Regions from separate parts of the Homo sapiens genome. Here region 2 is linked to region 1. Evidence: promoter capture Hi-C in human tissues and cell types (Jung and others, 2019). All regions are on one chromosome and are shown on one strand. The core of a region is centred on a gene start or on the middle of the fragment in contact, and the rest is flanking DNA. Distances in the headings are between cores, read along the strand shown. Region 1 holds the start of ESCO1 (establishment of sister chromatid cohesion N-acetyltransferase 1). Region 2 overlaps GREB1L (GREB1 like retinoic acid receptor coactivator).

Region 1 (5,392 bases), core at 1,839-4,338:
AGAAGGAAAAACAAATATGATATAATAGTTCAGAGGAAGATTTAATCAATTACACTACAAATTGAGACTACTGGTATTCATGAATCGGAAGTGAAAAATATCCTTCAAAATGATAAAGAATAATGCTCAAGAAAGTTTATTTTTTCCCATGAACGCAAACTATTTATTCTTTTCACAGAAACTGATTATATATAGTTTTAGAAAAGAAAATAAGGCCAGGCACGGTGGCTCATGCCTGTAATCCCAGCACTTTGGGAGGCCGAGGAGGGTGGATCACCTGAGGTCCGGTGTTCCAGATCAGCTTGACTGACATGGTGGAACCCTGTCTCTACTAAAAATACAAAAAAATTAGCTGAGCGTCATGGCGGGCACCTGTAATCCCAGCTAATTTGGAGGCTGAGGCAGAATTGCTTGAACCAGGGAGACGGAGGTTGCAGTGAGCCAAGATCACGCCACAACACTCCAACCTGGGCAACAGAGCAAGACTCTGTCTCAAAAAAAAAAAAAAAAAAAAGAAAATACAGCATAAATTGCAGGCATGAATTATGTATCGAAAATACATGATTTATTTCGTTTCTTGTTTTTTTAAGGCCACTGGCTGGGATCAGACACCAGGGTCAGCAGAGCAACAAGCTGCTATGGCCTAGGCTCCTGGCCGGAGGGCTATGATTTCATATGGTCTGATATTTGCACGAATTCCTATGCTCCTGATTGAGGCCAATTTAGCACATAGAGTGGAATAGACTACTCAGAAGCAGAGGCCTATTTTGTGAGAATCGACACTCATAAATATGGTTTCTTTGTATGCCAGAATTTGAATTACTATAGACAAAGTAGTTTATCCAACCAAAAGAAGTCCCACCAGTTGTCTGGCAATCAGAAGACGAAGATGAAGGGAAACATAGGTCAGGTCTCCTGATAAATAACCAGCTTTTAACCAGACCAGTAGTTTACTCCTGTTCCCCCGCCCCACCCCCCGCCCCCAATTTGAGCTGTTTGGCATATGTCATTAAAGTGTGTATCAGGGACTGGAGCTGAAGGTGGAAGCAGCGGACAGGTCTTTGCCAAGTAACACAACTATGGTAATGTGAAGAATGGCCTCACCCATCAATACCTCCCAAACAGCTGGGATTACAAACGTGAGCCACTGCGCCCAGCCTCGTTTTTGTTTTTAAGCCATAACATCTCCCTGCGCAAACTGACAGGCAGCTCACTATTCGTGGAAGATGAATTGTCAGAAAAACATCAGGTTTGACAAACTTAGAGCACATTTTGGTTGTACTTGGCTTCAAAGAAGGAGGGCAGGAAGGGGAAAACCCATTTATGATCACCTCTTCCCATTCTGAAATGCAGAAGTACCGAACTAGCCTCACAGTTCCGCAAATAAGCAAAGGGTAGCACAGAACATATGTTCAAAAGCAGTCTAGTAGCCGGAGCAGTGGCTTAGGCCTGTAGTCCCAGCGCTTTGGGAAGCCAAGGAGAGAAGAGAGGATCACTTGAGGCCAGGAGTTCGAGATCAGCCTGGGCTGGTCTCAGTGAGACCTTATCCCTACAAAATATAAAAAAATTAGCCTGGCGGCCGGGCGCGGTGGCTTACGCCTGTAATCCCAGCACTTTGGGAGGCCGAGGCAGGTGGGATCACAAGGTCAGAAGTTCGAGACCAGCCTGGCCAAGATGGTGAAACCCCGTCTCTACTAAAAATAAAAAATTAGCCGGGCATGGTGGCAGGCACCTGTAGTCCCAGCTACTCAGGAGGCTGAGGCAGGAGAATTCCTTGAACCTGGGAGGCGGAGGTTGCAGTGAGCCGAGATCGTGCCATTGCACTCTAGCCTGGGTGACAAGAGTGAGACTCCATCTCAAAAAAAAAAAAAAAAATTAGCCTGGCATGGTGTCGTGGGCTTCATACATGCAGTTCTCAGGGAGGCTGAGGCAGGTGGGATCGCTTGAGCCCAAGTCGAGGCTGCAGTGAGCCGTTACTGTGCCACTGCACACCAGCCAGGGCTACACAGCAAGATCCTTCCTGTCACAAAAGAAAGAAGTGTGGGAACCATGAATCCTAGTGATAGAATCTTGGATTCTATCTCTAGAGGCGTCCAAGAGCGAGCCAAAGCTTTGTCTGAACACTCAGTCTGACTAAGTCTAGCAGAATATTTTACAATTTCTGATGATTCTTGCACTCTGATACACAGGAAGAAAGTGTGCAAGGAGAGGGCGAAGCCCTGCATTTTTTGGAGGTGCTGGAGGGCAGTGTAGGGACTGCACCCTCCTTTTTTTTTTATTTGAGACAGGGTCTCACTCGTCCAGACTAGAGTGCAGTGGCCCAGTCTCAGCTCACCACAACCTCCGCCTCCCAGGCTCAAGGGATTCTCCCGCCTCAGCCTCTCGAGTAGCTGGGATTACAGTCGCACGCCACTACCACCCGGCTAATTTTTGTATTTCTAGTAGAGACGGGGTTTCACCATGTTGGCCATGTTGGCCAGGCTGGTCTCGAACTCCTAACCTCAAATGATCCACCCGCCTCTGCTTCCCAAAGTGCTGGGATTACAGGCGTGAACCACCGCGCCCGGCCCCACCCTCCTTCTTTACATTGGCTCATATGGAAGACCAAAGGCACTTGGATTATACATCGCAGACAGAAGCAGCCAAAACCTACATGGCAACCAGTTGCGACAAATTTCCAAGGTAAACCACAACCGCTGGGGGCCTGGGTGGTTTTCAGCTCAAAGCGATGACCCCAGGAACGACAAGCGGCCGCCGCTAGGGGGCGCCGCCACTTCCCTGCCAGGCGACCACCCGCGGAGGCGCGCGCGCTAGGCCTCCCACCGCGCCTGCGCTGAGGATGGACACTAGCTCGCCTTTCCTCGACGCCCAGCCGTCCGGGCCGGGGTGAAAAACTGCGTGACACGCAGTGAGCGTGGCGGCCATCTTCGTCTTCTGGGCACGTCAGCTGAGCCGGTTAGGGCTGAAGAGGAGCGTTGCGCAAGCGCACCCAAGACGGTCACAGGTAACTCCCATCTGACGAGCGAGGCGTCGCCGTCGTCGCCGGAAGTTTGGTGTTTGCGCCGCGGGGGAGGCGGCGGCCGCAGCAGAAGCAGCTGAGTGTCTCCTGATACCCGGATGTGAGGCGATCCGCTGGCGCTAGTCTGACCCTCCGCCAGGCAAAAGGAAGGTACGCGAGCGTCCCTGACGGTCCCCGCCGCCTGTGTCTTCACCTCTCTTTTGCCAGCCCCTTCAGGGAGCGGACAGTTCTCCCTCTTCCTGTTCCACCCTCGGTGGCGTGTTGCCTCGCACGCCCCTTCCTACTGCTCCGGTCCCAGCTCTTCGCGCCCCTGGGAGGGAGGTGGGAGGCTCTAGGCTCCAAGACGCCGTCGCTTGAGGTAGGCAGCTAACGTGCTCGCGTGTCCGCGCACCACCTGCCGCTGTTTGCTGGGCGGTCGAAGTTCATAAGGGGTCGTGACCGCCGACGGGGCAGGGCCGGAGTTCCCAGCACTGCCGCGAGGGCTCCGGGAGCCCCGAGGTGGCGCGCAGCCATTGCTAGCACCGGGGCAGCGCCAGTGCTGGTCCCGCAGGTAGCTCCGGGCCCCGTCTCCGCCCCCTGCGTTTTCTCTTCCCGGCGCTTCACCGGAGCCAGTCCCTCGCCGCCTCCTGGCGCAACCCGCTGACCCGGCCTGAGCCTGGAGGCCTCTGCAGTTTGCGGGGCGCGATGTGGGGTCTTGGTTTTACAGCCTTCAGTTTGGGAGGGGAGCGGGCCCAAGGTCATAGAGTAACTCATGCTGCAAATGGGGGTCTCGGCACAGGTAGGGCGGCTCTGGAGTAGAAATGAGTGCATTGAGGGCCGCAGTGAAGTTTATAGCGATGGAGAGAGGCGAACCAAAGAGAATTGGGTCCTCGATTTTTATCACGGGTTAAGATTATTTTACTATGGGGGTTTATTTTGCACAGGCAGAATGGGATAGCAAGTCCAACAATTCGAAGACTACCTCCTCTCCCTCCGCCTCTCAATGATGCGTCCGAAAATCCGGCGTGTGCTTTATTTTCCGGGGCGATGGGGACGCAGCGGGGACCAGGGGAGGGAGGAAGAGGAGGAGGAAGGAGCTCAAGCTTTGCGATTTGAGAAGTACTATGAACCATGTTTTCTGTAGTCTTAGCTGCAATGAGATTCCTTTAAACAGGAATCGCAGCACACAGTATCTAGATAGTATTACAAAACGATATCTCAATAAATAAGCTTCGCAGGAAACAAAAGCGCTACTTGGTGGCATAAGGTGTGGTTAGTCCCCCCACCAGCATTGGCTTTTTTAAAAAAGTGGATAAAACATAGATTTCAGTTGAAAACATCCAGGTTGCAGTGAACTATGCTATATTCACTTTGTCTTCTGGTCAAGTACTTAGTTTCTGCTTTACACAGGACACCAACACGAATAAAGTTTTAAGTTATTATTTTATTTTGAGACGGGGTCTCGCTCTGTCGCCCAGACTGGATTGCAGTGGTGTAATCACTGTTCACTGCAGCCTTGACCTCCCTCCCCGGCCCCAAGCAATCCTCCCACCTCCGCCTCCCTGAGTGGCTGAGACTACAGGCGTCCGCTACCATGTTAGGCTAAGTTTTCTATTTGTTGTTGAGACGGCGTTTCGCCATGTTGCCCAGGCTGGTCTCGAACTCCTGGGATCAAGTGATCACCTGGGCCTCCAAAAGTGCTGGGATTACAGGCCTGAGCCACTGTGCCTGGTGAATTTTTTTTTTTTTTTGAAAAGCAAAAAATCTAATCAATGGAATTAGACATGGGAGTAGGATGAGAAGTGCTTTAAAACGTGCTTAATTTGGAAGTCGCAAATTCAGGCCTAGAGCATGTGAGGAAATGAGGAAACTAGGACTGTAATAGAGCCACTTTTTCCCTTTTAGGCAGAATGCAGAGTATCACTGTTGGGTCAGATATGTGACTTTGGAAGCACAATTCCAAAATTTGTCCTGGCTTACGAGCTAGAACTCCTTTATCATTGCTAACTGAGGAAAATATGCTATTGTCTCACCTTTCTCAATCAATATTATAATCCTGTAGTGAACAAGTAATTGTTTGTTTTTTTTTTTTGAGATGGAGTCTCACTCTGTCGTCCGGGCTGGAGGGCAGTGGCGAGATCTCGGCTCACTGCAATCTCCGCCTCCTGGGTTCAAGTGATTCTCCTGCCTCGGCCTCCCGAGTAGCTGGGATTACAGACAAGTGCCACCATGCCCGGCTAATTTTTTTGTATTTTTAGTAGAGATAGGGTTTCACCGTGTTGGCCAGGCTGGTCTTGAACTCCTGACCTCAGGTGATCCGCCTGCCTCGGCCTCCCAAAGTGCTGGGATTACAGGCGTGAGCCACCATGCCCGGCCAAGTAATTTTTTTAATGT
Region 2 (5,492 bases), core at 492-2,991, 240 kb after region 1:
ATTGCTCAGCTTACTCTTGATTTCTAACAGTGTTTCCTTGTTGTCTGTCCCCTCTGCAGACCCTGAAACCCCTTGATTTTCTTATTTTCACCATTTGCTTCAACCAGCAGTTCACTGGAGACCCATCCATCTTGTAATGCCTAAAGTGACAGATGCTCTCAGAAACGACCACACTGCTGAGTGAACAAAAGATAACATCACCTCCAGGAACTCCAGAGAGAAATACAACTGCAAGCTTAAGACAGGGGCTGACTTGACAGACATTGGACCATAAACCTCTTCTAAGCAAAAAAGAAAACAATTGCCACACACACAAAAAAAATCTGACACAATCAAAGGCAGAAAAGAGTGATTATTTGTGGATTGCCTTTTCACTCTGTAACTCACTTTTCCCCACCCAATGCTTTTATATCGGGGCAATTCACTCACCAATAGGCAGGAGGAGTTCTTGTGTGTGTGGGGGGGGGGGGGCGGGGGGGAGGCGGAGTGGGGGCAGGGGGAGCCTTTCTCAAGTATCTTCTTTTATTCATCAATATTCAAAGTGAAATTCATTCACAAGTGTTTCAGGAAATCTAAGTCTACCATACAGCATTCTTAAGCCTGACTCTTAATATCTGGACTCAGAAATGCTGACTCAATTCTACTGCGGTGAAAGGCACATGCATGCTTTGCAAATTAAAAACACATTAGAAATTAAAAAGCAACCTGTGACAATGTCAACAATATGTGCAGCACATTTGAAAAAGCCAACCATTCATCAGACAACCTCCAACTTGGGTTAAAAAGACATTTTACAAGAGGATTCTGGGAAGGGCTGCACAGCTCTTTTCTAACAAAGGAAAGGTCATATTAACATCTCCCAGCAACAAACTAATGACAGGGAAGCTGTAGATGCAGGAGACTCTGCTTGATGCCATCTAGGTTCTAGGACTTTCGTTGTGACTGTTGTTTAAAACATCTTATTTAAAACTATCAGACAGAATAGGAAGTAAATATAACTCTAACATTCAGACAAATACAGTGAAGGGGAAATTTCGAAGAACATAAAAACAAAAACTAACCTGGAGGTCAATTAAGAACATCATGTGGTCAATGCCAATTATGGAGATTAACAACCCGTTTTTAGAATAGATATCGAGCAACACAGGAAAACCTCTGTTGGAGCTAAATACATTATTCTTCTCAAAAAGGGCAAATGATACAAATATTTATGTTACATCTAAAGAAAAGAGCCAAAATGCTTAAGAAAATTTCCATTGACAATATTTCTAAGAAGAAATCTAAATACTTATAATGGCATTTCTTTAATAAAAATATTTTTTTCTCTAAAATGTTTGCACACAAAGTCTTTAAGTTATGCTACAATCATTTTTCTTTGGGGTTACTAATGACTCCTCTCCTCCCCACTTTCCAAAAAAAACACAAATTTTAAAATATATTTTGTCTCCTGTGATTGAATTACTTGTGGGGAGGAGGTTAAAAAAATTTCAACTTATATAAATCAACATATCAGTTACTTAAACATTTTTATGTCTCTCTTATTTCCTCAAACACTTCAATGTATCTTTCATAAATAACAGTATAATATTTCATAATCTCAGAATTTTCTGGGTTTTTTTTAAGGCTGGCAAAGTAGAATACATACAAAATAATAAAATGAGTATGTAAAATCATATCACAATAGAAAAAAGATTAAATAATTATAGAACACTTATATAAAATACTTGTTCTAATATGGACTGGATCTTTAACTAGGAGACTTTATAAACAAAGCCTTATACACACTGGCCCTAAGTAATCTCCCACAATCTATTAATCCAAAACTACCACATCATTCAACACTTTCAAACTCTGGCATTAATAACAAGAAAGAGAAGTGACCTTGAAATGACAGCTCCACTGCAGAAGGCTCAAAAAAAGATCCAATTAAATGATCTACTTTAAAACACAATAGAATCAATATGCATGCTAGAAAAGTACATCCCTGTGGAAAGTTCTTATTGTCTGACTGATCAAAAACAAAACTTTTTTTTTTTTAAGGGCCCCTTCCAGATCACAGTCTGTACCAGAAATCCACACAGGAAAAAAAAATCCATCAAAATGAAACCCTAAAAGGGTTTACTCTTCACCATTCTATTTGCACTTCAAAACCCTGTCAGTCCTTCAGTTAAACCCCAGGGCTGTACCATTTCAATAATAAGAGAGGTGGCCAGTGGTGATTTATCTCCCATTTGGCCTCTGGACAGAGCTGTAATGTCTAGGAAGCTTCCCTTCCCTGACTGGATCCCTCCCCCAAGTCTCCACCTTAATTTGTGCAGCCTTGGGTCTGCAATACCTTAGAAACAATTCATGTGCCCCTTCCAATCAGATGCAGGAACACTCTGTACTCAAGATTTGGGTACATTTTCTCAGCAATAATTTCACAAAATGGCATGCTGCTGAGTACTCAGAGCATGGCAAATACCAGCTTAAATTTCAGATTCTCTTTGTTATAAGTTAGAGCAGAAAAGAAACTTCCTTAACTGTAGCCTCTCTCTTCTCACATACGTTATCGGAACTTCACAAGCTTTTCCCAGTGTATACTTTGATATCCTTTATGTTTTGGACCACATTAGCCAGTATCCTTCAGTGTGGTACTCATCTAAATTTAAATCTTTGCATTGTAAAATACCTTAACAAATCCAAAAAAGTGGAGATTTCATAGGTCACAGACTCCTGGGTCAAAAAGACCTAAAAATAGATAACAGACCACCACGACTTAACTGATTTATTCTACCCTTGTTATCCAATATGTACTGTAACTGTCATCACATACACTCACCAATTTTCCAACAATGTCAACAGTTATTTAAATGGAAATATAGATCCCAGAAGTCACCAAATGTGAAACACAGTGAAATTATTCCTTAAAAATGGAGGATATTTTATCATTAGGCATGACTTACCTATTTCATAATTATGTTCATTTGCTTTCTAAAATGGAAAGAGAATAAAAAGCATGTATAACCTTTTCTCTACGTATTCAATTTTTTGTTTTATTTAAATGAGAGGAGTTTTTCTAATTGAGTCTGATAAATTCTATCTCAATGTCACATTAACACTTTGCACCAAATGATTCAACTATAGTGATCTAATTTTACCAGTTGAAAATGTTCAAGCTATTTCACTAAATTCATAAGTTTAGAGACTCCATAGGCAAAGATATATGTATTTCATTTAATCCTAATATCAGTCACCGGGTGCAGTGGCTCGTGCCTGTAATCCCAGCACTTTGGGAGGCCGAGGCGAGTGGATCACCTAAGGTGAGGAGTTTGAGACCAGGCTGGCCAACATGGCGAAACGCCATCTCTACTAAAAATACAAAAAAAAAAAATTAGCTAGGTGTGGTGGCAAGCACCTGTACTCCCAGCTACTTAGGAGGCTGAGGCAGGAGAATTGCTTGAACCCGGGAGGCGGAGGTTGCAGGGAGCCGAGATCGTGTCACTGCACTCCAGCCTGGATGACAGAGCGAGACTTCGTCTCAAAGAAATAATAATAATAAAACAAAAACAAAAACCCTTTGTTTTAAGTTAAGAAAGCTTAAAAATAAGAAAAATAAATATATGACTGATAGTTTAAAATACAAGAAATATAACTGTCAACTGAAAGAATTATTCACAATTTTGGAAGTATTTATCAATAAAAGTTATATTTCTTCCATTAAAAAATACACCACAAACATCCTTATACCACATTAGCAAATGTTTTTCATTTTCAGAGCCCTAAATACCACAAATTCCAGAAAAAACAACCCTCCTACCAAATTACTTTATTGCATGCAACCAGATCAGTGACTCTCAGATGACACATTTGAGATGATATATTTGAGATGACACAAATATCTAAACTGGCATTAGTAACAATATTCAAGAAAACAAATTTCTTAACCTACTTCATGAAAACAACCATAACAAAAAGAAGCTTTCCTCAACAGTCAACAAGAGTAATTGATGTACCACAGAGGAAATATCCAATCTTCATTAAGTATTTATTCAGTGCAATAGACTGTTAAGTGCTATTTAGACCTCAAAGAAGAAGCAGTTCCTGTCTGGTAGGAATCAAGTCTTAGGAGAACTGAATGGAGATGAGACGCAGTTCCTCAAGTCGTGACACTATACTTCAAAATGACAATGCTAAAAACTGGAAATGTGCTATAAAATGTATATTATCACTTTGAAGTCTAATACCAAAGAAAGTGATACCTAAGGGAATACTAACTTGAATAAGACTTGACTGAGTAGTTCTTGATTTTATTTATTTATTTTTTTTTGAGATGGAGTCTCATCCTGTCACCCAGCCTGGAGTGCAATGGCACAATCTCGGCTCACTGCAACCTCCACCTCCTGGGTTCAAATGATTCTCCTGCCTCAGCCTCCCAAGTAGCTGGGATTACAGGCGCCTGCCACCACGCCCAGCTAATTTTTGTATTTTTAGTAGAAACGGGATTTCACCATGTTGGCCAGGCTGGTCTCGAACTCCTGACCTCATAATCCGCCTTGGCCTCCCAAAGTGCTGGGATTACAGGCGTGAGCCATTGTGCCCAGCCCCTGATTTCTTATTAATGTAGCATGAAAATATTTGGATACTCAAGTTGTGCAGTTCCCAAATCTGCCCGAGTAACCATGGCCAAGACACCTATCTTCCCTGGGCCGCCATTTCCTTATCCATAAAATGAAGATAAAAGTAATACACTTCTAGATTGAAAACATTTATGGTGGTCTCTGCAGATGACATGATCTTGTACATAGAAAACCTTAAGATTCCACCAAACAATTGTTAGAACTAATAAACGAATTCAGTAAAGTTGATACAAAATCAACATACAAAATCAGCATTTCTTCTTTTTCTTTTATTCTGTGAAGTTATTATCTTTTCATTTTATTTCAACAGTTTTTAGTGAGCAGGTAGTTTCTGGTTACATAAATAAGTTCTTTAGTGGTGATTTCTGCGATTTCGGTGCACCCGTCACCTGAGCAGTGTACACGCTACCCAATGTGTAGTCTTTTATCTTTCACCCCCACTCCCAACCTTTCCCCCAAAGTCCATTATATTATTCTTACACCTTTGTGTCCTCACAGCTTAGCTGACACTTATAAGTGAGAACAGGCTGGGCGCGGTGGCTCATGCCTGTAATCCCAGCACTTTGGGAGGCCGAGGTGGGCGGATCACGAGGTCAGGAGATCAAGACCATACTGGCTAACACAGTGAAACCCCATCTCCACTAAAAATACAAAAAATTAGCCGGGTGTGGTGGCAGGCGCCTGTAGTCCCAGCTACTCAGGAGGCTGAGGCAGGAGAATCGCTTGAACCCAGGAGGCGGAGCTTGCAGCGAGCTGAGATCTCACGACTGCACTCCACTCCACTCTAGCCTGGGTGATAGAGCAAGACTCCGTCTCTACATAAATAAATAAAGAGAACATACAATAACTGTTTTTCCTCAAAAATCAGCATTT

The links. The method cuts DNA at HindIII sites, captures the fragments that hold promoters and counts their contacts. A contact is called where the count stands out against the background at its distance.
Region 2: a contact is called between a fragment that was not itself captured here and the fragment with the promoter of ESCO1 in region 1, in 2 of the 25 tissues and cell types used here (aorta and mesenchymal stem cells).

Annotation. Positions count from the first base shown.
Region 1 is chr18:21,598,400-21,603,791 of GRCh38, reverse strand. It overlaps ESCO1 (establishment of sister chromatid cohesion N-acetyltransferase 1), which reads left to right and starts at 3,088. Exons shown (of 12, transcript NM_052911.3): 1 at 3,088-3,169. RefSeq lists enhancers at 1,459-1,538, 2,863-3,382, 4,450-4,744. The HindIII fragment of the contact is 11,871 bases long and covers 67-5,392 here.
Region 2 is chr18:21,358,267-21,363,758 of GRCh38, reverse strand. The region is part of intron 1 of GREB1L (GREB1 like retinoic acid receptor coactivator); the gene reads right to left. Among named protein-coding and RNA genes, the nearest start is that of GREB1L-AS1, 90 kb to the left of the region's middle. The HindIII fragment of the contact is 4,057 bases long and covers 1-3,769 here.